Regions from separate parts of the Homo sapiens genome. Here all the other regions are linked to region 6. Evidence: promoter capture Hi-C in 16 types of primary human blood cells and fetal thymus (Javierre and others, 2016). All regions are on one chromosome and are shown on one strand. Each heading gives the region's core, a stretch centred on a gene start or on the middle of the fragment in contact. The rest is flanking DNA. Distances are from core to core; before and after follow the strand shown.

Region 1 (4,734 bases), core at 1,047-3,546, 700 kb before region 6:
CTATAATGAAACCAATTTTTTAAATCAATGAAAGGATGTTGAAGGAAATGACATTATTCAGGGACCTGCCATACATCATTTTGCTTAAAATCACAGTTTTTAAGAACCTATCAACAGTATTGTGTATTATATGAAATGATGCACATTTATGATTTTTTTTTTTGAGACAGAGTCTTGCTCTGTTGCCCAGGCTGGAGTACAGTGGCACGATCTCCCCTCACTGCAAGCTGCGCCTCCCAGGTTCACGCCATTCTCCTGCCTCAGCCTCCCAAGTAGCTGGGACTACAGGCGCCCACCACCACGCCTGGCTAATTTTTTGTATTTTTAGTAGAGACGGGGTTTCACCGTGTTAGCAGGATGGTCTCGATCTCCTGACTTTGTGATCCGCCTGCCTCAGCCTCTCAAAGTGCTGGGATTACAAGCAGAAGCCACCATGCCTGGCACATTTATGATTTTTAAGCTTTCTAAAAACTTTTGTAGAATTCTGTTTATAAACTATATTAGTCCATTCTCAAGCTGCTATGAAGAAATACCCAAGACTGGGTAATTTATAAGGAAAAAGAGGTTTAATGGACTCACAGTTCCACATAGCTGGGGAGGCCTCAATAATGGCAGAAGGCAAAGGAGGAGCAAAGGCACATCTTACATAGTGGCAGCAGGCAAGAGAGCATGTGTAGGGGAATTGCCCTTTATAAAACCATCAGATCTCATGAGACTTAGTCACTATCATGAGAACAGCACAGGAAAACCCGCCCCCATCATTCAGTTACCTCCCACCGGTTCCCCTCCCATGACATGAGGGGATTATGGGAGCTATAATTCAAGATAAGATTTGGGTGGAGACAGAGCCAAACCATATCACTATATGTTACTCAAAAGCTCAGTAGTAGAAAAAAAAAAAGATGAAACCAAAACTGCTCCATTTGCCAGAAGGTCCAAGAACACCACTCCACATACCCCCACTGCCAGCCAGATGCATTCTAGGGAGGTGTTTGAAATCTCTGGTCTAGGTACCATCATATTTAAAGTTATACTGGAGGTATATCATCATAGCTACATTTAGTTTTTATACTAAGCTTAAAAACTAGGCTTCTCTCATGTTGTTTAATCTTTACAGCAACAAACATGTATTAATATTAAAATGTATTAAGGTCCAAGAGACTTAATATAATAATAACTAAAAGGAAATAAACACTGCCAGCAAAGCAGAATAGGTCTCATTTCCAGAGCTCACCATTAGGAGTCTGATCATTATTATCTTAAAGGCAGAGTGTTTTGAATGCCATACTTGTGCATATGAACTTTCCTTCCTTGTGTTTACTTTAGTTCAGTGGTTGGTGGACCTCAGTATGCATAATGCGTTGTGGAGTTTTATGTACAAAACTATGTGGAACTGATTTTCAGAGCATTGTAATTAATTATCAAGGAAATTTTGACGGAGTAATTTTCAGATTTTGTATTATGTGCTCAACTAAAACTTAATATCTAGAATAAAATGGACCTTGCCATATATCTTCTAAAAAAATACAATGGTTCAGCAGAACATTCACCTATATATATATATATACACACATATATGTGCGTATGCGTATATGTGTGTATATATATGTGTGTGTGTGTATATATATATGAAATTTGGATTTTACTGAACTTATCTCATTATTTAGAGGGCCACATGGTGATGAAATTTATGAAATAGGTTTTTAAAGCTCCCCCTTTTTTACTTTAAAATTATTTGCATAGTAATCCTTTATAATATTAGTATTTACTAATATGGAGTATTTGTTATTTTAAGGAGTTTACCTTTTTACAGTCATTTTTGGAGGGTGATGTAAAATGCATTAAGCACTTGTACGATATATAATCCTAATTTCTTTTTTTTGTTTTTTTTTGAGACGGAGTCTTGCTCTGTCACCCAGGCTGGAGTGCAGTGGCGCTATCTTGGCTCACTGCAAGCTCCGCCTCCTGGGTTCATGCCATTTTCCTGCCTCAGCCTCCCGAGTAGCTGGGACCACAGGCGCCCGCCACCACGCCTGGCTAATTTTTTGTAGTTTTAGTAGAGACAGGGTTTCACCATGTTAGCCAGGATGGTCTCGATCTCCTGACCTTGTGATCTGCCCGCCTCAGCCTCCCAAAGTGCTGGGATTACAGGCGTGAGCTACTGCCCCCGGCCTACAATCCTAATTTCTATTTTAAGATACAAATCATAGTTTCAGCCCTAAAGTTATTTAGAATCTACCTAACACAACATGCCAAATACATACAGAACAGCTAGAAAACATAAGTAATAAAGGCAAGATGTGCCACAGAGCACCTGTGTAGCAAAAAAAGGAGTTGATAAATGTAGATTAGCCACAGAAATCGAAATCATTGAGCTGTAATTTTTCAGTGTAATTTTTTTTGTTTCTTAATAGGCAGTTAAACAGTATAGTGTTCATACCTCTGGTATGATGTTTAACAGTTATTTTCTCAAAATTCAGTAGTCTTTTAACCAGACAATGTTTAATTGTTTATCTGGGAGGTACCTACAAGCCAAAAAGTAAGTTTAGAATGCTGCTTCAAAGACATAGGTAAACAGCCAAGAGGAATACTCTTAAGTCCTTATAGGAAAATATTTAATTCATTTTACTCATGGAAGACTATTTTATGTGCCTACTCAGCAATTAATAGTGCATTTTAATGTGCTTGGTGATCTATCACTTACCCACAGATCAGAGGTAGCAAGTAACTAGCAAGGAACTGCCAAAGACTAGAACAATAGCAGAATCAAGGATTGACAGCTGATAGCATAGGGGAGGCACTGTTCAAAATAGAACTTAAATGAATAACATTCTAGGTCCATTTAGTAGGAGGACAAGCAAACATCTGCAGACCTTGAGAGTTTAATTGGTAATAATGACAATGCTGTGAGCCATCCAAGAAATGTTAAGTTAGGTTATTTACACTTTATTTTCAAAATGCAGGAGATATCTAATACAGTCTCATAAGCATCCTTTACTTTCATGTGTGCTAGGTTATGTTAATCTTTTTACTTATATTATCTAATTTTTCTTTAAAATAAACCTGGGGGTAGGTTTTATTACGTGTATGCTACGTATGAGAAAATTGCAACTGAGTTTAAGCAAGACATACTTTCACAGCTAATAAGTAGTGGAATCAAGAATTTGAACCTGTTTCTGACTAACTGTAAAAGCACATGCTTTTAGCTATTATGTTGTGGTTCATCCATGCAAATTAAATTATTTTGAGCTTTACAATAATTACACTGTGCTTTAAGTCAACTATTATTATCCCCATTTGAGACTCAGAAAAGTTAAGTAGCTTAAACAAGATAGTATAGCTATTAAGTAGCAGTAGTAGGATTTTGTTGTTGTTAGTGTTAATTTTTTTCCCTTGCCTAGAAAATGTACTAATAAGCAACATTTCCAATACTGGATACATTGGGTTTTACCCAAATAATTTTAGGATTATTTAATTATCTACTTTAATTTTTGTTTACAGCATAGGCTTTAACAGCCAAGCTTTTCCCATGGGTTTTTTTCACAAAGCTAAATAACTATGAGACATAAAGAGTTTTGAGATCCTCTGTAAAGGTAAAAGATAACTATAATGAAGCACTTGCTACATTCCAGGTACTGTTCTAACATTTCGTAGGCATTAACTCATTTAATCCTTACAGTTGCTCTAGCCCTGTTTTACAGTGAGGAAACTGAAGCACCAAGAGGATAAAAATTTGATCAAGCTTACACAATCTTAAGTGGCAATACTGGCATTAAAATCCAGCAGTGTGCCAGGCGTGGAGGCTTACACCTGTAATCCTAGCATTTTGGGAGGCCAAGGTGGGTGGATCACGAGGTCAGGAGTTCGAGACCAGCCTGGACAACATGATGAAACCCTGTCTCTACTAAAATACAAAAATTAGCCGGGTGTGGTGGCGCGCGTCTGTAATCCCAGCTGCTTGGGAGGCTGAGGCAGGAGAATCACTTGAACCTGGGAGGTGGAGGTTGCAGTGAGCTGAGATCATGCCACTGCACTCCAACCTGGGCAACAGAGCAAGACTCCTCCTTCTTGGGGGGTGGGGGGGGAAAGTCCAGCAGTATGCCTCTGGAATCCAAATACTTGTCTGCTACACCGTATATACCGCCTTCCCCCCAAATAACTTAGAAGCATAAGTTTTCAAACTTACAGTATTGTCTGCAGAAGCTGACTCCCCTAACCTATATGTTGTTTTGTTTTTTAAATTGATTGAGAATAAGGATTGGCATTACAAAGGACTGAAGAAAAACACATGTAACATTGAATCAATGATTTATTTTGATGGTTAGTGGAATTAAGTGGAAAGCTGTAGTTTCATATTTGTCCACAAGATGGTGAAATTCTCATTAGGTATAATTTTTTGAAACCCATATAAACCCTTAATTTATAATCTGCATTTGATGCTATTTATTATAAGCACTGTAATTTCTTTTTACAGCCCATCTGCTGGCAAGGCTAAGATTAGAACAGCTCATAGGAGAGTCATGATTTTGAATCACCCAGATAAAGGTAGGTAGAATTCCTATTTTTCATAATATGTATATCAAAATATGCTGTGAATTCCTTTCAGATTAAAGTCATATATGATATATAGTTGAGATGGAAGTTTGTGCGCCACATGTATTGTGATTTTTTTCTCATAAATGAGCATTTAGGTTGGAGTTCAGTGATTCACACAAGTAGTGGATTTATATTATC
Region 2 (4,544 bases), core at 1,828-4,327, 720 kb before region 6:
AAAGTTAGAACACCTTCATGCGGCTGCCCTTGCTGACCTGATGTTTCTCATTATAGAGTCATTCCTTGAAGGTTGGGACTTTGATTTCCTATGACTTGGTGTATATTTCCCTACAGAACTTGAATGCCAATGGCTGAATGGCTTTTTGGTTTTAGCCTCCCTTTAGTCTCAGCCTCCATCTTACTATGTCTGCACCAATGAAGAAGTCTATTCATTCTGTTCCCTAGGGAGATTATGCTAGTGTTTTAAAAGTCTCTGCCGACTCTTCAGGATTTGCCTCTCCCACCATTTATCAGACAAAAATGTTTCTGTGGTTTCACTTCTTAATTTTGTATCCATTAGAATTTGTTTTGGCTCCAAGTGCCTAAAACCCAAAAATATAGTGGCTTAGGAAGATGGAACTTTTATTTTTATCCCATGTATTAATAAATAAAGGCAATTCAGGGATGGGAAGGCAGCTCTGTGATCATCTGGAACCAATGTCTTTTCATCTCATTGTTCTTCCTACTTTATCCAAGAGGGTTGCTCCAGCAGCAATGTATGCATTCCAGCCAGCAGGAAGGAGAAATGGAGAAGGACATCTCCTTACCCCTCTGTAGGACTTCTCAGAAGTTGCATACACTACTCTGGTTGTATCTTACGTGCCAACGCTTAGTTAGCATAGCCATACCTAAATCTAAGGGAGGCTTGGAAAAATATATCTAGCTAAAAACAGGAATTCCTGATCATATTGAAAAAAAAAAAAAAAGAGAATGGATATTGAGGATTACCATTGATCCTTGCCACATAAATCTTTTGTTATTGTGACACTAATAGTTTCCTGAGATGTTTAAGGAGAAAAGCTCAGAATATTGTGGGTATATAGCCAATTTAAAATAAATTATCATCAGAATTAGCTTATATCTGACATTCTGAATTTTGGACCCTTATTTTAAAATTTTTACACTGGTCTAGAAGGTAGACCTTAACTTTTGAATTTTTTATCATTTTTGATAAGTTTGGAAGCTTGACTTCTTTCCTAAACATTGATGTAAGGTTTCATGAAATTTTTAAGTATAGCAAATGCTGTTGAACATTGCAAATGTAAAATATGGAGGAGGAAATATGTGCTTTTTATCTTTATAGAAGATAAATATATTAAACCCCCTATTAAAAATCGTCTATAGAAAAAATTATAGCAATAGGTAGTATAAAAGCTCTGGGTTAGAGTGGATTCAAATATATGGAAATTAAATGAAAATCTAGAATCAGTTCACTGAGAATTAGCTGATACAGTGAGCAGCAGATATAATCCCATAGACACTGCATATTTTTTTAAGTCCTGATCTTCACAGTAGAGCTTAAAGAAAGTGTAGTATTGTAATGTAATTATTCTCATTATTAAAAATGATTTACTTTTAAAACCCAGCATGTTACATCATAAGTAATATTCATTTTTTCTTCCATAGGTAAGAAGTTTGATAGCTGTAGGACTGGGTGTTGCAGCTCTTGCATTTGCAGGTAAGATAAAGAATACATACCAATAAATTGCAGGAGAAATCTTTCCAAATAGCATCTACAGTGATTCATGAGTAGACCCTTAGTATTCTGAGGTTTTGGTTTTCAGACATAATACATTCTCATTCTTTCCACCATTTGTAGTTACTGAACATTTGTCATTGTAGCAAAATCTAGATAAACTTTATAGGGAAGAAAATTAGTGATAAAAAGCCAGAAAAACTAGCTCCAATAATAGTTTATTCCTGGCATTTTTTTTCAGTTTGAAGTATAGTATACTATAAAAAGAAATTTTAATATTATGCAATGTAAGTGGCATGGAGTGCCTTTATTCTCCCATATTTATTTTTTCTTGCAGACAGGTTTATACATTTTAAGCTGTCAGTTCTTTCTCATGAGCATAGTTGTTCCGTGTAGTTTATTGATTTGTCTCTAAACATATTGGTATAATTACCTTGATAAACCCTGGGGAATTTTTTTCACTGCTAAAATTACGTTTTTCGAAAGAATAGTTCTTTTTTTTTTCTTTTTTTTGGAATGGGCAAGACTGTGCCCCTTCCAGAGGCTCTGGGGAGAAGCCCTTTCCTTACCCTTCCTGGCCTACAGAGTTTGCCTTCATCCTTGGCTCATGGACCCTTCCTCCATTTTCAAAGCCAACAGCTTAGCATCTTCCAACCTCTGTCTGACTGTCACTCTCCTCCTTCTCTCTTAAAAAGATTTTGTGATTACACTGGGCCCACCTGGATAATCAAGGATCATCTCCCCATCTCAAGATCCTGAACCTAATCACATCTGCAAAGTCAGTTTTATTACATAAGGGTAACATATTCTCAGGTTCCAAGGATTAGGACATGGACATCTTTGAAGGCCATTATTCAGCACAGCACAATGCTAGTTTTTCTTTTTTTTGAGACGGAGTCTTGCTCTGCCCAGGCTGGAGTGCAGTGGGGCGATCTCTGCTCACTTCAAGCTCCGCCTCCCGGGTTCATGCCATTCTCCTGCCTCAGCCTCCCGAGTAGCTGGGACTACAGGCGCCAGCCACCATGCCCAGCTAATGTTTTTTGTATTTTTAGTATAAAAATACAAAATTTAGCCAGGATGGTTTCGATCGCCTGACCTCGTGATCCACCCACCTCGGCCTCCTAAAGGGCTGGGATTACAGGCGTGAGCCACCGTGCCCGGCCCATTCGAAAGAATAGTTCTGAAGATCTAAAGTAAATTTGCTGAGTCTGTCATTAACTTACAGCAGTTTTAAATTACATAGCTATATCCTAATTAAATGTTAATTTGAGAATATGTCCTTATTGATAAAGATTTACTTTTTTGTTCTAGCATTTGTGTTTGTAAGTTCTATCGGTTTGATCTTGTTAATTGGCTCTTTTAGGCAGAGCTGCATTCCATTTTGGCTATATAGAGTTTAGTAAGATCTGATAGAAAAATGAGAAATAAGAGGGTCTTGTTTTGTATGGTATTTATTTTCTCACAATTATCATTTAAAACACTATTTTAACCTTTTGTCTTGGAAATGATGAAACACTTCAACAATCAGAACTTTAAAATCTAGATCAGTGGTTCAGATTCTCTTGATGTTTTTGTCATCAAGGTCTTATGTCTCAGTTATATAACTTATACTTAATGAATTTCTGAGGTTTTATGAGAAGAATATCATGTCTCAAACAGAATTCTGACAAACTTGCCCCTAAACATAAAGGAATTTTAGTATTAATTAGAGTAGGCATAGTTATGAATTCAAATGTAAGGTTTTGATTTGAAATTAGATAAAGATGTATTTTTTCCAGGGTCGTCTTTGTAAAATGACAAGAATTGGTGTGTGTATTCTTTATAGACCACACCATTCCCAAACTCGTATTACTGACTAGAATATTATATTAAATAACAACAAGATCTCTTCCAGAGCCAAATACAACCAAATAATAGAATTTAGGAGAAAGTACACTTAGATGTGTTAGAACTAGGTCTTCTAGTTAGAGTAAACCTCCAGGTGTCACTTCTTGAAGCATTTAACTGCTTTTTAACTGAGATTAGAAGTCAGTCACTGTGGTTTTGAAGAATTTTGAGGTAATATAAAAGCTACATTTCATACTATTATAAAATCAAATGGAAGATGACATCTATGTGATAAGAGATACAGGCAAGTTAGGGAATCAGCCTCATTTAATTTCACTTTATTTAATGTTCTCCTTTATCTCAAGACCTTTTTATCTTCACATTTTCCCATTTCTGGCATCCTGTCTTTCACTGTAACATGTTTGCACAGAATAACAGTATACATAGGCAGGTAAATTTTTCTAAAACAGTATACATAGGTAGTTGAATTTTTGCAGTAGAACTCTTGATTTGCAAATAGGCTTATGGTTAGAAGTTGAATTAAAGCCTGTAGTGTCATATACTGGTTTTCTAGCAAGACTCTTGGAGAAAGAGATACTAGTAGAAGACACAATCTGATTGGGGTGCAAAAGATAAAGTAGCTAGATAATATTTTACTCTTATTTGATGCCCTCAAAATAATTTAGAACCTGTTTTACTATTGACTCTTAGTTGTTAAAACTCAGGGGAGTTTTGATTATTGGGATTCCCAACTAGGGAAAGAACTAAAAATAAGTTTTCAGAGAGAGTAGCCATCCTCAGTGAGAAAAATTGATAATTAACATCCTTGGTAAGTATTTCATATGTAATTGCTTTTTTACTTTAGAGATAATTGATTAAAACCATTTCTGTGTAGTATAGATCATAAATATAATTTGTTTTCTATATATTTCAAAGTGATTATCATAAAAAGCAATACAATTAACCATTTTAGTATTATAAGTATCTTTTATATGTAATAGGACTTTACAGTTTGTTGTATAAAGAATACTAGGATGTTATTTTTTTTGTGACCTATACCATAATATAAATGTAAGATATTACACATAAACATTGAAAATTTCTAGTTTTATGATCATAAACTAGAACTTGATAAATTTAATGGCTATGATAATGGTATTAACATGAAATTTTGCCCTCCAATAAATTAAAAATTTGAA
Region 3 (4,970 bases), core at 2,408-4,907, 680 kb before region 6:
AGAAATAGATATATCAATCGGAGTGATTAGAGTGCAGGGTTTCTGGAAAGCAAGGTTTGGACAGAGTGGTCATCAAAGGCCAGCCCTGTGACTTACACTGCATTAAATTAATTTCTTAGAACATAGTCCCTGATCATTATCACTTTACTATTCCAAAGGTGAGAGAACAGATTCAGATAGAGTGCCAGCATTGTTTCCCAGTATTCCTTTACAAATCTTGGGTTCATTCCAGGTAAACTGAACTACTGCATTGTTTCTATCTTAAAATACTTTTTAGATATCCTAGATGCATCTTTCAACTTCTAACATTCTGTAGTTTAGGAGTTCTCAACCTTGGCATTATTGACATGTTAGGCCAAATAATTTTTTTTGTGGGAGGTCTCTTGTGCGTTTTAGATGATTAGCAATAATCCCTGACCTGTTATCTACTAAAGACTAGTCGTTTCTCATCAGTTGTGACAACAAAAATGGTTCCAGATATTGCCAAATGCCCTTTAGAGGACAGTAATCGCCCCCAGTTGAGAACCATTTCAGTAAAACTTTAATTACTATTTTTTCTTTTGGTTTATAAAATAATGATCCTGAATTAAATTGATGGAACCTTGAAGTCGATAAAATATATTTCTTGCTTTAAAGTCCCCATACGTGTCCTACTAATTTTCTCATGCTTTAGTGTTTTCACTTTTCTCCTGTTATCCTTGTACCTAAGAATGCCATCCCAATCCCCAGATGTCCACCTGCCCAAAGTCTAGGCATAGCTGAAGGCCAAGCTAAAATGTATCCCTCTTTTTCTGGTACATGCAGCAAAAGTAATATGAATTATCAGCTTTCTGAGAGCAGGCATTGTATCTGTCTTGTTTGGTGTTACATTGGCACCCAATAAATATTTGTTGAGTGAATGAATAAATTCCCATAGCACTTTATTCTTCACATGGTACATAACTATAGGGGCTATAGCTTGGTACCTTGTGAAGCAACTCTTGGTGTAACATACCTTATTTCTCATACTAAAATGCAAGAACCTTTAGAGCAAGGATCTTGCCATTCATCTTTGTAACCTCTTTACTCTGGAGCACTTGCATTTAGCAGGCATCATAAAGTTTTACGTACCAAGAAAATGTTGCTGTTTTCTGAATACTATGCATCAAAAAATGTTACCACTAATTTTTAAAGCTCTGCTAAGGAATATTGGGGCACCCTCAGATGCACCTTTTAATTGATGTCATATTTTCCTAATCCATACTTTATTCATGAGAATTTGAGTCACCCCAGCATTAGCTTGGAATTTCCTTATTTCCCATTTGCTTTGCAGGTGCCTTGGAGTCAGATCTGGTTTTGAATACTATCTTCCTGTTATGTGATCTTGGGCAGTTACTTAATTTTCTAGTCAATAACCCGTATCTATAAAATAGAGAAAATAATCCTACACACCGGGGCCTGTTGTGGGGCGGGGAGAGGGGGGAGGGATCGCATTTGGAGATATACTAATGTAAATGACAAGTTAATTGGTGCAGCACACCAACATGGCTCATGTCTACATATGTAACAAACCTGCACGTTGTGCACATGTGCCCTAGAACTTAAAGTATAATAAAAAGAAATTTTAAAAAATCCTGTCAAATAAGGTTATAGTAGAGAATAAGGATGTGTAAAGCATTTAGTCACGTAAATGCTTAAAAAAATGTAATTTTTACTTCTTTCACTGCCTCATTTAATTAGTTTTATCTTTAATAATACCTTGGATTCAGGGTAAAGTTTCAGTTATGTCCCAGTAATCATTTATTTTACCCTCGAATCTGCAATTTGGATAGAACATGGTGGGGACAGCTCGTCTCTATTCCTTGCAGCATTAACAGGCTGGAGGCACCACTTCTCTGGCCAGCAAGTTGGGCCTGGTTGTTGGCTGAGAGCCTCAGTTCCTTTCTGCACAGGTTCCTCTTTACATAGGCTTCTCAACAGGGCTACTAGAGCATCGTCACCATAGCAGCTGTCTTATAACAGAGAGTGGTCGGTCTGAGAGACAAAAAATGGAAGCTGCCAAATTGTTCTGGGTCTGGAAACTGTCAGGGCATCACTTGTGCCATATTCAGTTGGCCTAAGAATTACAGAGCCTGCCTCGATTCAAAGGGAGAGGATAGAGAGGACTGAAGGAATCAGTGCTCATCTTTAATATGCAGCAGGACAGGTTTGGGATTTTTTTTCCCCCTTGAGTCTGTGAAGGCATTACTTAAGAACAAAGTCAGGCATGTATAATTGAACTACAGTTACTTGAAATATAAGCCCAGAAAGTTTCAGATAATAAATACAACTATTTTTCTGCTGTTACCCTTGTACCTAAAGATGCCATCCTAATCCCCAGATCTCCACAACTATACCTACATAGTAGAAGGTTAAAATGTATCCCTCTTTTTCTGGTGCATCCAGCAAAAGTAATATCATGAATTATGAGCTCTCTGAGAGCAAGGATCATATCAGTCTTGTTTATTGTTGCAGTGAACAAGTACAGTTGCAGATATTCAGGAGTAATTATCTAAATGGCAGTAGGCTTATAAAACTGAATTTTCACCAGCCACACCCTCCCCCCAACTCCTTATCTGTAAAAAGCTTATTTGAGTGGTTACCTGTCTTCAGTAAAGATTGCGCTTGCATATTTGCTGTCATTGCATATTCTGCTTAATTAAGCTCTGTTGATATTGCAGTTTCTGTGCATACTTACATCTTAGATGCAATCTGAGGGCCTAGGAAGGCCTTTTAAAAATAAAACAATTCCGATTGCAGAGAAAGTGTAAGTCAAGGACAGTTAATTCAAGGGGAACATAGAAAGCTATTTAGATTTTAGTTGATGGTGCCAGTCTTCAGCGTAAAGTCAAAAGTGGAGGGAAGTTTAGTAAGGAAAAAATGTTGGGCTTGGAATACATTGTTTAGTCTTCAAAGCACTTTACTTTTTATGAAATATATTTTAGACATTCAGCAAATATTGAATACTTACTATATCAGGCAGTAAAGATATAAATTCATTCTTAAAATGTGCAACATGTTCAAACTGAAAAAAATACATTCTTAAACAGGAAACTTTTTCCTTCATACTTTTTAATTAACAAGACATATAAGAGTTGCATTAATGGGCGTGCTTATGATTGATCACCCAGCAGCATCATTAGAAATAATATATTTTATTCATGTGCAGAAATCTTTTGGTTGTCCTGGGGAACCTTGAACACAGAAAAGAGCTTTTATTGATAAGGTAATTGAACACACTTGACAATTAGCTTAATATGGTTTAATACCATTTGTGGGAGAAGATGAATCAGCCAGGCTCTTTACGTCAAGAATATGAAGTTTCTCTTGAGTCAACCAACTTAAGATGAGCTACGGAGACTGCAGTGAAAAGTTAAATATCCAAGTACACCAGCCAATTTCACACAGTGGAACCATGCTGTCCTCGGGCACCCTGCACCTCGCCCAACAGTCATCAACTAGATGGAGGCTCCTGGCTGCAAGGAGGATTTGATGGGAATGAGTAAATGTGTCAGCATAGTCCGTCCCTTCTAATGGAAAAGCAACCCAAAGAGCAAATCCTATTAATGGCTGGATCAGTATCATCTACTTGTCAAAAACATTCCATGAATTATGAGTCAAAATTTTATTTATGGTGGCATTACACACATTAAGAGATGAGGACTTCTGTTAGCATAATTTATTAGCTGGAAAAGTTGAGAAGGTTCTCTGGACTCATTTTTATAGGTGGAACCTAAGTGATCTGGATAATTGCCCACCAGCAAAATTGCTGGGCATGGTGGACAAAGAAAATGTTCCTTCTAATGATTTTTTATGAGCTGAGTAGCTATTGTTCCCAGCTGAGTGCTCTTTTCCTCTTTTTATTGTTGCTGAGCAAAAGAATTTATAAAAAGCTCTTTCTTTTGTATTAAAAACCCTGCTCAATTGAAATGCAAGTTCATTAAGTAATCTTCATTTCTCTTCCTGCCATAATAACCCTTTCCCTCTCTGTTCGATTCAACAGTATCTAGCAGCACTGCTCCAAATTTTAAGTCTGAACAGACTATATTACATAGATGTAGAGAAATACTCAATCTTCAGCATTAAGAGGGAGCTTAATTTCACACGGGTGGAATATGATCACTCAGGCTAGATGTTGGCCATAAATTTCAAATTAGTATCTCAACTTAGCAGGGGGGATCAACAGTGGCAAACTTCAATTATGACAGGATAAAAATCACATAGAGATATTGGTTCAATATGGACATCTAAACTATAATGCTAAAAGCCAATAATTAGAATAAGTTCATTTTAAGAAAAGCATTAATAATATTAGCTAACGTTTAGTACCTGTGCCAAACATTCTACCTATGTTACCTTGATTTTCATAGCCAGCCTAAGAGGTACTATTATGTATCCCCATTTTACAGGTTAAGAAACAGGCTCAGAGGAGTTTAGGATCTTTTCCAAGATTACATAGCCAGTAAGTGGTGGCACTAGGAACCAAATTCAGACTCTGAATCGCATGCTGTTTATATTATATTGCACTCATTCTAAATATGTGGGAATCAGAATGAAGGGGCTTGTATGACTTTTGGCTCATTTTTTGATGCATGTGACCTGGGATTATAAATGTGAAATTAGGTTTACGAAAGGATCCAGTGTCATTGTGCATCATGGGCAAGGAGTACCTAATCTCTTTAATTCTTCCCTGGAAGCTTACGATGTCCATCCAAGTGCACATAGCAAAAGTTCTGTTGTAAAGTTTAGCAGAGTGACTTTCTTTGACTCAGAGTGATGACGGAGGAAGCTTTGATAAGATTTTATCTGAAATGTTCATGGACAAGAGCTTTCAAGGAGAACATCCAGAGCAAGGTTCTGAAGACAGCTCATGAAGGTGAAGCAGCAGACCTGGCACAAGAAATGAAGAGAGAGCTCAGTGTATTAAAGATGAAAACAAGAAAACCGAATAT
Region 4 (4,746 bases), core at 795-3,294, 760 kb before region 6:
CACTCTCTTGACCTCATGATGCACCCACCTTCGGCCTCCCAAAGTGCTGGGATTACAGGCATGAGCCACCGCGCCCAGCTGGGGATCAGAATTTTTAAGGACAACTCGGTGAGTAGGGGGAAGCCAGTGAGCTGGGAGTGCTGATTGGTCAGGTCAAAGATGAAATCACAGGGAGTCCAAGTTGTCTTGCGTTATCAGTTCCTGGGTGGGGGCCACGAGATCAGATGAGCCAGTTTATCGATCTGGGTGATGCCAGCTGATTCATCAAGTGCGGGGTCTGCAAAATATCTCAAGCACTGGTGGTAGTTTTTACAATAGTGATGTTAGCTCCAGCAGCAATTTGGGGAGGGTCAGAATCTTGTAGCCTCCAGCTGCATGACTCCTAAGTCATAATTTCTGATCTTGTGGCTAATTTGTTAGTCCTACAAAGGCAGTCTAGTCCCCAGGCAAGAAGGAGGTTTGTTTTGGGAAAGGGCTTTTATCATCTTTGTTTCAAACTATAAACTATGAATTACATTCCTCCCAAAGTTAGTTTGGCCTACGGCCAGGAATGTACAAGACAGCTTGGAGGTTAGAAGCAAGATGGTGTTGATTAGGTCAGATCTCTTTCTCAGTTGTAATTTTGCAATGGCGGTTTAATTCCCAGTCCAGTTCTCTTTATACTGCTATGCAATGCATGTGCTCATGTTCTGGTATGTACTATTATTCTGTGTCAGTGTTATCTTCCCTACAAGATTGTAAATTTCTAGGACCTAACTTCTTAGACATGCTAATAATATTAACTAAGTGAACAAATTAATAGACCCTCAAAACTTTAAATTCAGGAATAGAAAAAAAATAAAGCTTTTTCTTCCTGTCAGCTGATTTTGCAAAGGGTATAAGGAGCCAAAGAGCTGCCACGTTGGTACAGAAGTTGGAAAACACCATACGCTTCAACTGCTGGTTAATTTTTGCTCTAAAAACTTGATGGAGGCCAGGCGCGGTGACTCACGCCTGTAATCTCAGCACTTTGGGAGGCTGAAGCGGGCGGATCACCTGAGGTCAGGAGTTTGAGACCAGCCTGGCCAACATGGTGAAACCTCGTCTCTACTAAAAATACACAAATTAGCCAGGTGTGGTGGCACGTGCCTTTAATCCCAGGTACTCGGGAGGCAGAGGGTGCAGTGAGCCAGAGATTGCGCCACTGCACTCAGCCTGGGCAACAGAGCGAGACTCCATCTCAAAAAAAAAAAAAAGCTTAATAATAAAATGGGCTTTTATATATACAAATCAGCACAAACTCATTTGAGGGAGAGTAAGATTTACCTACTTGCTCACAACTTTTTTTCCCCTGCCTCAGGCTCCTGAGTAGCTGGGATTACAGGGACGCACCACCACACCCAGCTAATCTTTGTATTTTTAGTAGAGACGAGGTTTCACCATGTCGGCCAAGCTGGTGTGATCCACCCGCCTCGGTCTCCCAAAGTGCTGGGATTACAGCGTGAGCCACCGCACCCGGCCACAACTTTCTTCTGTGTAATTTCACCTTAAATACAGCCATTTACTTGGGGGTGGAGTAAGCAAATTGCCTCTTTAATTTCTCTCCCGGGGTGGTAGAACTGTGGCATTAAACAGAAGTGCGAACAGAAGTTGAGAGTGGGAAGAAAGGCTGCCCGGAAGGGGGTCAGGAAAGCTCAGGCAAGCCCACCCTCAGGCACTACAGCTAGACTCCGAGCTTACTGGGCAGTCATCTGATTCGACCAACATCAGTTCGCAGGGCTTAAGCCCAGTCCCTTACGGCGGCCTGGGGAGGGACCAGGCCCAAGTATATAAAGCTCCCTGAGGGTCCGCGTTGGCTTTGCGCCTGTGAGTGTGATTCAAGAACGTCCCAGTGCCCTTGGCTCCTTTCGGAGTGTGACCCCGTGCTTGCACGGGACACGTTACCCAGCTCGGGTGAGAAGGGTATCTTCCGGGAACCTCGCCTTTAATAGCACAACGAGCGCAGAGTCCACTGGATCTGCGAGAAGAAACCGCGCTAACTAGTTTGTCCCTACGGCCGCCTCGTAGTCACTGCCGCGGCGCCTTGAGTCTCCGGGCCGCCTTGCCATGGCTGCCCGTGGTGTCATCGCTCCAGTTGGCGAGAGTTTGCGCTACGCTGAGTACTTGCAGCCCTCGGCCAAACGGCCAGACGCCGACGTCGACCAGCAGAGACTGGTGAGTCCTGCCAGCGGCCCCCACCCCTCTCTGGCTCCCTTGTAGTTTCTGCTTCAGCCCCCTCTACCGCCTCACCCTTGAACCTTTGTACTCCCCCGCATTCGCTCACGGTCTGTGCCCTAGCGCTCACTTGTTCAGTGGAGAGACCGCTTTGTGCTGGGCTTTGACGCCTGGGCGTGGAAGACGGAGCAGTTCTGAGGATCTGTCTCCTCAAGGAGCTTCCAGTCTTGTCTGGGACACAAACCAGAAAACAGGCAATTGCAAATACAGTAAAATAAGTGCTGTATGTGGATTTTCCTATCTCATAGGAGGCCCTAAAAACGTCTTGCAGGGGACGTGGTGGGATCAGGGACGCTTCTTGGAGAAAGCTGTAGTTAAAAATTAAGATCTGAATGAATAAAAACAGTCCATTCAGCAAGGAGAAGGGGAAAAAGTGTTTCGGGTACCAGGACTACTGTCTCCAAAGTCTCCGGCACAGAAACAGGGCCCAGTTGGAAACTCCAAGTGGTGTATTCAGGATGAACTGTAGAGCTGGAAAAAGGAAGGGTCTAACAGAAAACTGTCCAACAGAAGCATATTGTGAGCCACATACGTATTTTTACGTTTTTTTTTTTTTTTTTTTTTTTTGAGACGGAGTCTCGCTCTGTCGCCCAGGCTGGAGTGCAGTGGCGCGATCTCGGCTCACTGCAAGCTCCGCCTCCCGGTTTCAGGCCATTCTCCTGCCTCAGCCTCCCAAGTAGCTGGGACTACAGGCGCCTGCCACCACTCCCGGCTAATTTTTTGTATTTTTAGTAGAGACGGGGGTTTCACCGTGTTAGCCAGGATGGTCTCGATCTGCTTACCTCGTGATCCGCCCGCCTCGGCCTCCCAAAGTGCTGGGATTACAGGCGTGAGCCACCGCGTCCGGCATATTTTTAAGTTTTTTGTAGCCATATTAAACAACTGAAGAGAAACAGGTGGGTTTGATTTTAACCATGTATTTTCTTTAACCTGATATATGCACAGTTGCATGGTAATTTTCAACATTCAATATGAAATATTGCCCAAGTGGTGGTTTAGGCTTGTAATCCCAGCGCTTTAGGAAGCCCAGGCAGGAGGATCACTTGAGGCCATGAGTTTGGAGGACAGCCTGGGCAACACAGGAGACCCCATCTCTGCTAAAAAAAAAAAAAAAAAATTAGCTGGGTGTGGTGGTGTGAGCCTGTAGTCCTAGCTGCTTGGGAGGCTGGGTCGGGAGAATCACTTGAGCCCAGGAGTTGAGGTTATAGTGAGCTATGATTTCGCCACTGCACTCCAGCCTGAGAGACAGAGCTAGACCCTGTCTCCAACAAAGAAAAAAAAATGAGGCAGTAGAGATTTAGAAAGTTTTAAGTAACTGGTCCAGGATCATCCCTGGTAAGTGGCAGATCTACGATTCCAAATGCTACACTTTTTCCCTTATGACTTGCTGACTCCTTAGAAATAAGGATTTCTGGATATAGTATTCAGTGTATGATACAGCTGAACAAGATCAGGCAGAAGTAATCCTTTTGTGGAGAGTCGTAAAAATCCGAGTATCAGGCTTTCAAGGTAGTTGGGAGCTGTGGTAATTGGAAGATAGAACTAATATTGGTGACTTTTACATGTGTAGGTATTTTTACTTGGAAGAGGAGAGAGTTTACAGAATCCAGAGTACCACATAGGAAGCATCTTTAGTAGTCCAGGTACTTGAAGGCTAAAGTGTAGGCCAGTGATTCTCAAACTGTCTGTGTCCTGTAATATCCTGAAATCCTGAAGTCAGATTCATAGACAATAAAATCTACCTGTAAACATAACTTTTAATAATCAATATAATGCTTTAATTGAGACATAAAGGTGAAATATTTTATTAGACAATAACATGTCTACAGGCTGCGAGCGGTGTCTCGCTCCTATAATCCCAGCAATTTGGGAGGCTGAGGTGGGTGGATCACTTGAGTCAGGGGTTCGAGACCAGCCTGGCCAACAGGGCAAAACCGTGTCTCTACTAAAAATACAAAAATTAGCTGGGCATGGTAGCACAAGTCTGTAATTCCAGCTAGTAGGGAGGCTGAGGCAGAAGAATTGCTTGAACCCAGGGGGCAGAGGTTGCAGTGAGCGGAGATCATGCCACTGCACTCCAGCCTGGGCGACAGAGCGAGACTTTGTCTCAAAAAAAAGAAAATAACATGTTAACATGTCTACAATTTAAATATGTAAATACTTAGACATTACTACATTAGAAAACATAATGAAGTAATTATTAGTTGCTGTCATATTACACCAATTTGTAGAATCACTGTGTATGTGACAGCTACCAATGCAAATTGTTTATCAAATGTATTATATTGGCTTTTCAAGTAGCAGAAGGACCATTGTTCTTTACAAACTTATTTCTCCTAAATGGTGAACAATTTCTGGTAAAAACTTGAACAAAACAGTGGAATCTCCCTCAATTTACATGGCACTTGCACTTATGGAAGATTCAGTCTGTACTAAAACAGTGTAATAATGATATATTTATATATAATGAAGTTCTGGACTAAGATTATCATA
Region 5 (4,950 bases), core at 1,075-3,574, 820 kb before region 6:
GGCGTGATCTCGGCTCGCTACAACCTACGCCTCCCAGCCGCCTGCCTTGGCCTCCCAAAGTGCCGAGATTGCAGCCTCTGCCCGGCCGCCACCCCGTCTGGGAAGTGAGGAGTGTCTCTGCCTGGCCGCCCATCGTCTGGGATGTGAGGAGCCCCTCTGCCTGGCTGCCCAGTCTGGAAAGTGAGGAGCATCTCCGCCCGGCCGCCATCCCATCTAGGAAGTGAGGAGCGCCTCTTCCCAGCCGCCATCACATTTAGGAAGTGAGGAGCGTCTCTGCCCGGCCGCCCATCGTCTGAAATGTGGGGAGCGCCTCTGCCCCGCCGCCCCATCTGGGATGTGAGGAGCGCCTCTGCCCGGCCGAGACCCCGTCTGGGAGGTGAGGAGCGTCTCTGCCCGGCCGCCCCGTCTGAGAAGTGAGGAGACCCTCTGCCTGGCAACCGCCCCGTCTGAGAAGTGAGGAGCCCCTCCGCCCGGCAGCTGCCCCGTCTGAGAAGTGAGGAGCCTCTCCGCCCGGCAGCCACCCCATCTGGGAAGTAAGGAGCGTCTCCGCCCGGCAGCCACCCCGGCCGGGAGGGAGGTGGGGGGGTCAGCCCCCCGCCCGGCCAGCCGCCCCGTCCGGGAGGTGAGGGGCGCCTCCGCCCGGCCACCACCCCGTCTGGGAGGTGTGCCCAACAGCTCATTGAGAACGGGCCAGGATGACAATGGCGGCTTTGTGGAATAGAAAGGCGGGAAAGGTGGGGAAAAGATTGAGAAATCGGATGGTTGCCGTGTCTGTGTAGAAAGAAGTAGACATGGGAGACTTTTCATTTTGTTCTGCACTAAGAAAAATTCCTCTGCCTTGGGAATCCTGTTGATCTGTGACCTTACCCCCAACCCTGTGCTCCCTGAAACATGTGCTGTGTCCACTCAGGGTTAAATGGATTAAGGGCGGTGCAAGATGTGCTTTGTTAAACAGATGCTTGAAGGCAGCATGCTCGTTAAGAGTCATCACCAATCCCTAATCTCAAGTAATCAGGGACACAAACACTGCGGAAGGCCGCAGGGTCCTCTGCCTAGGAAAACCAGAGACCTTTGTTCACTTGTTTATCTGCTGACCTTCCCTCCACTATTGTCCCATGACCCTGCCAAATCCCCCTCTGTGAGAAACACCCAAGAATTATCAATAAAAAAATAAATTAAAAAAAAAAAAAAAAAAAAAAGAAAATCAGCTGGAGACCTCAACCTGCATTTTTAAGAGTCTGAGGGTCTTATTGGATTCATGCCTAGAACAGTTAGAGCCTAAAGGTATAAGGCTGTTGTCCATTGGCCACTGAGATGAGTCCTCAAGAAGAGGTAGCTACATTACAAATGGCCCACATTCACAGTTTATGAAAAGAAAGAATGCACAAGTATTTCCTGTACTTTTAATGTGATTCTCATGAAAGAGAATGCCAACCTAAAGCCATCTAAAGGGACTTGCCTATGAGGGCCATGTCAAGAACAATGGAACCCTAAAAGGAGTCTACCAAGAGCCAACAGTGAGGCCAAGCCCTGCCGACAGGAGAGGAAATCGTCTGTATCAGGGAAATCCAGGTGGGAGATGGGTAGCAGAGAGTGGGGGATGCTGAAAAACTCGAAGATTCCCAGGAAGAAGAACGAGCAGTCAGTGTAAACCTAGGCTCAAAGAAACAAGGATCACTGCATTACGAACCCCGAACTCTCTTATCTCCCTCCACTTCCCCCTTCAATCCCAGAAAGGTCAGAATCTGGGAACAGAGCCATGAATAGAGAAAAGTCCAGCCACACCCTGTTCTACTTGCTGGATTCCTACCTGAAACAGGCCTGGGTTAGAGCAGGGGAGAAGCTCTCATCTCCATTAGTAACAGAATTTTGATCAGTACCTAAGACTGAACATTAATTACTGAAATGAGACTGTTTTAGGCCTAGAATTAGCTAGGTCACTCTACTGTTTGAAAGAGACCAAAAAGCTTTAATTTCTTACATCATCCAAAAAGCCTGAGAAAGACTGTTCTCACATAGCCAATCTCAGGGGCCAAGCTAGGAAAGATTAAAGCTGTTTTCTGATTGTACCCTTCGAGTCTGGCTCATTTGCACAAAGGAGGCACTTGAGATTAGCCCTTTTCACGAAATACAGTGGGATGATGATAATATTACTATTACTTCCTCCCATTAAATAATTTCCAAATTAGATTATTTTTACCTATGTTCTTGGTGGGGGGGCAGGGTGTGGGGAGGGAACTTCTCTAAAACTATCACAACCGTAAGTGGCCCCTGACACAAGACATGCTTGTATTAACTAAATCTGTGGACACTGTGTGTCCAACCCTTTAAATTTTCGGCTGCTGATAGAAGAGAAAAAGCAAAGAAAAGATGTGAATGATTCCCATTAGGTGGCATCCCTTCTGAATGATTCAAACACCGGCAAAGGCGGCCCAGACAATTCATCACACTGGCAGCACCTGCTCCAGAGGCCCAGAGGTCTCTATCTGTAGAATAAAAACACAGGTGATGTTTCTCTTATACCCACCACCGGGTTTCCAGCTCACTCTCATCTCCCTCTTGGAACTGACTCTCCACTCCTTTTCTTCAGATTAACATTTAACTGCCATGATTAATATGCTTGTGCCAGCATTTACTCCCATCCTGACTAGTGCTATGACAGGGCATATGCAGCGCCCCAGGTAAGCTTTTTCAGAGTCAATCATCTAAGAGGCTCTAAATTATTTGGCAATTAAGCCATCACTGTGTTCCCATAGAACTCTGGCATTACAGGTTTGCTACTTGCAGAAAATCAGAAAAAAAAAAAAATACACACACACACACACACACACACACACACACAATTAAATGCATTCCACCCAAGCAGCACAATGACCAAACAAACTACAATGGACATTCACAGACAGACATATGCAAGCTGCTTACAGGATCCATAGGTGGCCCCGCCCTCCCTCATTCCGGCAGCGGCTGTGCTTGCTTACCTAGCCGTCTGGGCACCAGGTGAACCGGTTTAGCTCTGTTCTGCTCCTTCCACTTCTCCAGGTTGGCCAGCTCCTGCTCCGCAACTAAGCCAGGCGAGAAATATCAAATCGTCAATTATTAGACTTCTAAAAGAAAACCAGTCCCTTCAAAGCATAAGAAACAACTATTAGAAGGCAATTAACTATATGTGAGCATGAGTGAACAAGGCTTCCAGGTTAGAAACACAATATTCAGCCCTGACCCGTACAGGTCATCCTGGGCCCGGCCCTGTGGCACATTCTCACCAAGAGTCAGCACAGAGGGTTCGAATTTGAAAAACCACCTGGGCTCCTACTAAAAGAAGTATAGATTTTCCTACCATTCTGGCATTTTTAAAACTCTATATCAAGTTAATTTTTAAAGTTACCTATAGAAAATGTGTGCAAAACTAGAATATTTTCACGTCAATAAGAACTTTCCACACATAGGTAAACATATCCCCAGAGAATTCTGATGCCCATACTCGCTTTATCTTCAATGCTCCCAAGCTTACTGCGACTCTAGGGAATGAGGGCTCGGTGCTACAGGTGGAGACCCTTGCTCTGGTTTCAGGCACTCCAGACCACTGTGCAGAGTCGGCTTCCTGGGGAGCAGGGCTCATTTCCTAAATGTTCACTCTGCACGACAGCAGGGGGCGCCAGAGAGAAATTAGTTCTGTCACTCCAGCGCCTCCCCTTATCTCCTCATGAGACCTGTTTCAAATGTCCATTACTAGAAAAACAAATTCTGAAACATTTCGAAATCCAGACCACATTGAGACTTAATCTCCTATTAAGTATTTAAATCAAAAGCTTGTAAGATACCAGAACTGCTGGCAGTTCCCATAGTCCCTGCATGGCTGTGATTGTCATATTCTGCACTGACCCGCTGTCCCACCCGGAGCTACATGTCCGGTGGAGACTCTTTAGAGAGCTTTTTCCCTTTTGTGCCTTTCTGTCCATCATTAGTCATGAAGTTAAATTTCCTACCAATCATGTAATAAAGGAGACCATCGAATTTCAGCATAGCCCCACAGCTGGACTTGAGCAAGCCTACAATTTCTTTGTGAACTAAATGAACTTTAGTTCTCTTCCACCTCTAAAGGATAATGCTATAACTTTAAATGGCAGCATTTATATTTACTGTACATCAATTAAACATGTTATGTACGCATTAAGTACAGAGAGCACAAAAACGAGTAAGATGTGGTCCCTACCCTCAAGGAGGTTTATTGGCAATAAGTGTAAAGTTGTTCAAGCCAACAGAAATCCAGGATCTACCATCATGTCATGAGTTCTGTTACTAACGTAGAGAAACAAACTTAGAAGTGTTAATAGTAGAATATTTTTAAAGGTATAATCAAAACTAAAAAAAACAAAAAACCTTGATGAGATTTGGTGAGTCTATATAAATGAGAAAATAAAAATACTTCACACCAAAACAAACCAATTGTAAAAAGAGAGAAGCATTCTGAATGTTAAATGAATGACTATACATACTTCTTTGTATCTCATTTCTCCGGTTTATATTTGGTGCTATCAAGGTGTATGCACTTGTGCTAAAAGGAAGAGAAAAAAAAATGCTTATTACCATGAGAAACTACCAATGCATATAAGCCACCAGATATTTTTCCTTCTATTATACTGTATTTATGATCATTACCATCAAATAGGCACTATGAAAGATAATCTTCTTAAGACCCTGATCTGTTCTCTGGGACCTCACAATCTTGATGTCAAAGTAAAACAAAGGACATGGCCAAATATGAAAATATAAAGCATTCGATGAGTGACAAGTGACTAGTTGGTGTACTGTCCTTGTAGGGCTCCACCGTTCCTCTAGGTGGTGCTTGTGAGTAAATTCCTTTAAGATGGCTTTAGATTGGCATTCTCTTCTGTGTGACCACACCGGGGTACAGGAAACATTGGTACATTTTCTGTTCCCACAGAC
Region 6 (4,898 bases), core at 418-2,917:
CAGCTCAGCTTTCCAAGCTCGCTCACCTGCGTCTCTCCTCCAGGAATCAATTTCCTTCCCACTTTCTCCACCCTCTTCAGATCCCTTAAGCACGCTTCATTGCTTTCTCCAAACTACCAGACTCAAATCTGCAGCCCAGTTGGCCAGGAACCTTTCCATACGCACGTATTTCCTGCATTCTCCTGGGTCTGCTTTTAAAAATTGCTACCACCAAACAAATGCAATCTTAACAAAATTGGGATTACAAAGCCAGTTTTTTTCATGTAATGTTACAGCAGTGAAAGATTGAGGGAGAGAAAAGGAGAGAAGCAGGAGTGTATCTGGGTGAAGAAGCGTGGCTCAGTGGCTATACAGTGAGACGCAGAGATTCCACAGAGCTGGGCTTGCCCACCTGTCGACCCCACTTTCCCCATGTGCTCGCCGCGGGATGACAACCACAACACTCCAGAACCACCCCCCTTCCGAAAGAGGGCGGGGTTACGCCTTCAGCCAATCAGGACCCGCGAGCCCCGGGTGTCCAACCTATGGGGTGGCTGTGGCCGTGCAGGGGGAGGACGTGGGGTGGTCTGGGAGGGGCCGCGTCCGTGGGAGGCTCGCACGTGTCGGGTCCGGAGAGGCGGGGAGGCGGCCGGCGTCCAGCGGCCGAGGCGCGGGCTCTGCACCCTGGCAGCGGCCGAGTCCGGCTGCCCCAGTGCCTCCTTTACCTCGCGTTGGGCCAGGCAGGGCGCGCTCCCGCCGACGAAGACCTGTCCAAGGTGTCCGAGCTCCCCGCGAGAGGGGACAGTCACGAATAACAACAGTACCCAGCGCAGACTAGGCGGGGAGGAAAGTTTCCGGCCCGCAGCAGAGCGGAGTCCGCCAAGGCTGGAGGAAAAGGGATGCAGAGCGGGAGGGTGAAAACCTGAAAGAAGAGGGCAGCGGGAACACTGTGTGGGCAGGAACGGGTCCCGGGGGCGACGCCCGCAGGGGGAGACGGGTGCGGGGTGCGCTGTCCAAGGTGCAGGGGAGGTGACTGGCGCGCGGCGGGCGCGGAGCCCGGAGCTGACACTGGCTGGCGGGCGGAGGGGAGAGCGGGGAACAGCTGTCTGGGGCGCTGGGCACCCCCGGGCGCGTAAAAGTGAGGGAGCTTGAGACGGGGCACGGCGGGGAAGGGCGTGGGGGCTGCACCGAAGCCCCCACGCGTCCACGCACCCCTCCTCACCAGCCTCACCTCTAGCTCCACTCCCCTCCCCCCTCGCCCACTCCCCTCTCAGTCTAGATCCAGGTGCCGTGGCGGGGGTGAGACCAGAGGACCCCGGCTCGGAGCCCGGACGCCCCAGGGAGGCTGCGGGCCCCGGAGCTGCTTACCTGGGGCCGCCGTATGGGGAGCGGAGGCAACCCGCTGCGCGGAGTGGGGCGCCGGGCGCGGCGCGGCTCCTCCTAGCCTCGGCGTCCTCCTCCTCCTTTGCTTCTCCCGGACTCTGTCCCGGGCACGGAGCTGGGAGACGCGGCCGGGCTGCAGTCGCCGTTCCCTCTGCTGCCGCCGCCGCTGCAGCAGACAGAGGACGCCCCGTGGCGGCTGGAAGCCTGTGTGAGTAGCGGCGCCCGGGAGAGCGGGGATCTGCTGAGGGGCGCTGGAGACTCCGCGGCTGGAGGCGCGCGGGCGTGCGCACGCGCGCCTGCGAGTGTGAGTGTATGGGTGCGCGCGCGCCCACGGGGTGGGGGAGTCGCGAGGGGAGGGGGAGAGAGGCCGAGAGATGCTCGTAGGGACCGAGGCAAAATTCTACGACCCCGGAAATCCGTAAACGCGGGGAAGGAGGATCGAACGCGTGTCTCGCTTGGAGAAGCTGCCCACGGGGCGGCAGCAGAGGAGGAGGGGAAGTCAGCGAGGCGCGCTAGGGCTCCGGATCCCAGCCCGGCAGAGCCGAGCGGAGCGCGCAGCCACCGATGCAGCAGAGGCGGCGCCCGCAGCCCACGGTCGCGCTGCCCCCTCTCGGGAGGGGCCGAGGCCGCTCGCTCCCGCCACCGCCGCCGCGGTCGGGACTGCTCTACTGGGAGCGGGGGAACCGAGAGAGGGACCGCACGGTTGCTACGGCGACCTTGGAGGGGCCGGGCCCGCTGAAGGGCCAAGAGAAGAACCCGGGCGCACGTGGCCGACTCCAGGCTGGAGCGGGCGTGTTACAGGATTGTGGGCTTGGGGTAGACGGTGGAATTGGGCCGCGTGGCCTGGGCAGATGATGCGGGGTGTGCGGCCCAGAGTGGCTCGGCCGGGGTGCGGTCAGCATTCAGGTTGGTAAGGGTGAGGGGATCCTAACCCCAGGTGACATGTTGCCTTTTTTTCCTCCTTGGAGGCTACTTTTTCTCAAAGTTACCCACTTCCCAGGTAAGAATGCCGGCCTCCTCTTTGTTAGGATTCAACTTAGCTGTGCAGGCATCTAAGCAGTGCCTCCTTAGAGTCAGGCTCGTCCAAGAACCGCTCCCACCACCTCCCCACACACACCCACATCCCCCGATCCTCCATCCCAACTACATTGTAATACTTCAGAAATAAATGTTTAAAGCACATTTACATTCTCTGCCTCTTAACAGATATATTGTCTTAGTAGTATACTTTTCCTTGCTTATTTTAAATTCTGAGTGGGATTTTATTCACACAAGCATTTCTTCAAGGGTCGTAAGGTCTGGGTAATACTTGAAATACCCTTTCTGGCAGGAATCCTCAATGCAGGGATTGTGTTTTGCACACTTTTGCATGCCTTCCAGTGCTTAGCATAGTACTCTGTACTTTGTGAGTTCCCTGTAAATGTTGAATGAATGACATTGTTTTCTAGCTTCACGTAACCTGAAGGCAAAGACTTGGATGCTGGGAAAGTCATTACCACCCCACTAGGCTTGCCTGATTTTAACTTATGCCATTTCCTTGTGTGTGGCTATTTTTCCCCCTGGCGGTCAGAACCCCAATGCAAAGAAAGAAAATAATACTTATCCATTGTGCACCCTTAACAAAGGATGCATGTAGAAGCACTCTGCAGGGACCCCAGTGGGATGCCCTGGGTGTGAGGGGGCCAAAGCTCAGAACCTAACCTCTCAAAATGTGAAAGTCAGTGTTCACCAGCAGTTTATACTGTCCCTTCTAGAGCAGAAGGATGGGGAAAACAGTTTTAAGAGAAATACACTTTTGTTTTTTGTTTTTTGAGACGGAACCTCGCTCTGTCACCCAGGCTGGAGTGCAGTGGCGCGATCTCGGCTCACTGCAACCTCTGCCTCCCGGGTTCAAGCGAATTCTCCTGCCTCAGCCTCCTAGTAGCTAGGATTACAGGCGCCGGCCACCACGCTCGGCTAATTTTTTTTTTTTTTTTTTTTTTTTTTTTTTTTTAGTTTTTAGTTTTTAGTAGAGACACAGTTTCACCATGTTTTCCAGACTGGTCTCCAACTCCTGACCTCAAGTGATCCGCCTGCCTCGGCCTCCCAAAGTGCTGGGATTACAGGCATGAGCCACCGCTCCAGGCCAGAAATACACATTTCTAATAGCTTATCAGGTACGCATTTTTCTCCTGTAAAGAGTAGTGTTCATGGACACTGACCAATACATGCAGGGTCACCCCAGACTGCTAATTCTGCTGTCTGGTGTAGCACCAAGTCCACATCCTTCGACCTCGGTATTTCTACAATCATCGTCTTAGAAGCAGAAGTCTTCAATTTTGCATTTCATGCTAAATTTCAATTCCTTTGAACTCAGGCCCGCCTATGAGCTGCTTCTCTCTCCACTCATGATACCACAGCTGTGAAATATAACTGAAATAAAGTGAAAATTAAAATGGATTTATTTGGGTACCGTGTGTTCTTTAGTGGGGGTCCCTTTAACTGATTTATCTACCTTCACTCAATTGACAATCTTCTTAGAAGACATTTGTTGTGATATTGGAGCTTTTTTATTAGGTTGAAAGCTTACTTAAATTTCTCACTTGAAAGGAAGCTCTAAAACTTGCAAAAGAAGCAGAAAAACTCTGATACCGAAAATGGACCCTTGACAGCCAACCTATAGAATGGGTATGAGTCAGAATTTTCCAAAACAATTTTAAAGCTTCATTTTCCTTAGAAAGTTGCTTTTAGGGTTTTGTTGGGCTCAGAAACTAATACCGGAAAATATGGCACTTTGACATGCTGGACTGAAGAAGCAGCCTCAAAGTCTCTCTGACCCTCTCTCTGCCTCCTGTCTCTCAGTCGTCTGTCTCACCCAAAGCACAGGATGAAATTGTTCTCTGAAGGTCTTTCATCTGCCTAGAAACCAGATCTGCCAAAGAAGAACGCACTTGCCTTCCCTGAGTTTTTATTAATCTAACTCACGTCGTAGGAAGAAAGATTGAAGCCTGTCAACACAACTGGACATACTTTTGTCACACTCCTCTGCGGGCCCAACAGACTTTATCCCAGGCCATTTTATGTTCACCAAGCTCATTGAATTCCACTAAAAATTCTTTACTATCCCCCTTAAAATCATCCACATTTCCCTTTCTATTCTTCCCCTATGAAGAAGGGTATATGAGCATCTGTGTACCCCACTGGGTTATTGGGCAATCATTCTCCTGCAATTCCCTTGGATTATGCACATGAAAATAAGTTTTGTATGTCTTTTCTCCTATTAATCTGCTTTTTGCGAGGTGATTTTCAGTGAACCTTCAGAAGGTTGAAATCCCTAGTTTCAACAGCTTCCCAAGTGCTTGTCTTACTTGGTGGGTGGGAGGAATGTTAATAAAGCTGTAACTTCTCTGATGACCACCAAAGGGGACAGTCTTGTCTTCGTAAAAACAAATATAAGAAGCCAGCACCTAAGAATGTAGGCATATCACAAGCTTAATGTATGTTAACTTAAAAATAATGTATGTTAACTTAAATAAGTTAATGTATGTTAAAAGGTA

Evidence for each region. The method cuts DNA at HindIII sites, captures the fragments that hold promoters and counts their contacts. A CHiCAGO score of 5 or more calls a contact.
Region 1: a contact is called between a fragment that was not itself captured here and the fragment with the promoter of ENOX1 in region 6, in 6 of 17 cell types (M1 macrophages, erythroblasts, megakaryocytes and 3 more). The highest score is 9.5, in M1 macrophages.
Region 2: a contact is called between a fragment that was not itself captured here and the fragment with the promoter of ENOX1 in region 6, in 1 of 17 cell types (M2 macrophages). The highest score is 5.0, in M2 macrophages.
Region 3: a fragment that was not itself captured here is called in contact with the fragment with the promoter of ENOX1 in region 6 in 1 of 17 cell types (M2 macrophages); the score reaches 5.1 in M2 macrophages.
Region 4: the fragment with the promoter of DNAJC15 here is called in contact with the fragment with the promoter of ENOX1 in region 6 in 10 of 17 cell types (fetal thymus, M2 macrophages, M1 macrophages and 7 more); the score reaches 14.2 in fetal thymus.
Region 5: a contact is called between a fragment that was not itself captured here and the fragment with the promoter of ENOX1 in region 6, in 9 of 17 cell types (M2 macrophages, M1 macrophages, naive CD4 T cells and 6 more). The highest score is 11.0, in M2 macrophages.

The regions. Positions count from the first base shown.
Region 1 is chr13:43,081,294-43,086,027 of GRCh38, forward strand. It overlaps DNAJC15 (DnaJ heat shock protein family (Hsp40) member C15), which reads left to right. Exons shown (of 6, transcript NM_013238.3): 5 at 4,475-4,545. Among named protein-coding and RNA genes, the nearest start is that of LINC00400, 30 kb to the right of the region's middle. The HindIII fragment of the contact is 2,445 bases long and covers 1,075-3,519 here.
Region 2 is chr13:43,064,238-43,068,781 of GRCh38, forward strand. It overlaps DNAJC15 (DnaJ heat shock protein family (Hsp40) member C15), which reads left to right. Exons shown (of 6, transcript NM_013238.3): 2 at 1,449-1,500. Among named protein-coding and RNA genes, the nearest start is that of DNAJC15, 43 kb to the left of the region's middle. The HindIII fragment of the contact is 4,148 bases long and covers 1,004-4,544 here.
Region 3 is chr13:43,108,268-43,113,237 of GRCh38, forward strand. DNAJC15 (DnaJ heat shock protein family (Hsp40) member C15) reads left to right here. Exons shown (of 6, transcript NM_013238.3): 6 at 1-4,970. It overlaps LINC00400 (long intergenic non-protein coding RNA 400), which reads left to right and starts at 4,898. Exons shown (of 3, transcript NR_047013.1): 1 at 4,898-4,970. The HindIII fragment of the contact is 2,111 bases long and covers 2,603-4,713 here.
Region 4 is chr13:43,021,542-43,026,287 of GRCh38, forward strand. DNAJC15 (DnaJ heat shock protein family (Hsp40) member C15) reads left to right here and starts at 2,045. Exons shown (of 6, transcript NM_013238.3): 1 at 2,045-2,193. The coding sequence starts at 2,086. RefSeq lists enhancers at 1,864-1,923, 1,934-1,983, 2,494-2,543. The HindIII fragment of the contact is 4,162 bases long and covers 1,235-4,746 here.
Region 5 is chr13:42,966,113-42,971,062 of GRCh38, forward strand. It overlaps EPSTI1 (epithelial stromal interaction 1), which reads right to left. Exons shown (of 11, transcript NM_033255.5): 2 at 4,500-4,558; 3 at 2,982-3,065. Among named protein-coding and RNA genes, the nearest start is that of EPSTI1, 24 kb to the right of the region's middle. The HindIII fragment of the contact is 719 bases long and covers 1,966-2,684 here.
Region 6 is chr13:43,785,305-43,790,202 of GRCh38, forward strand. ENOX1 (ecto-NOX disulfide-thiol exchanger 1) reads right to left here and starts at 1,668. Exons shown (of 17, transcript NM_001347969.2): 1 at 1,348-1,668. The HindIII fragment of the contact is 7,995 bases long and covers 1-3,924 here.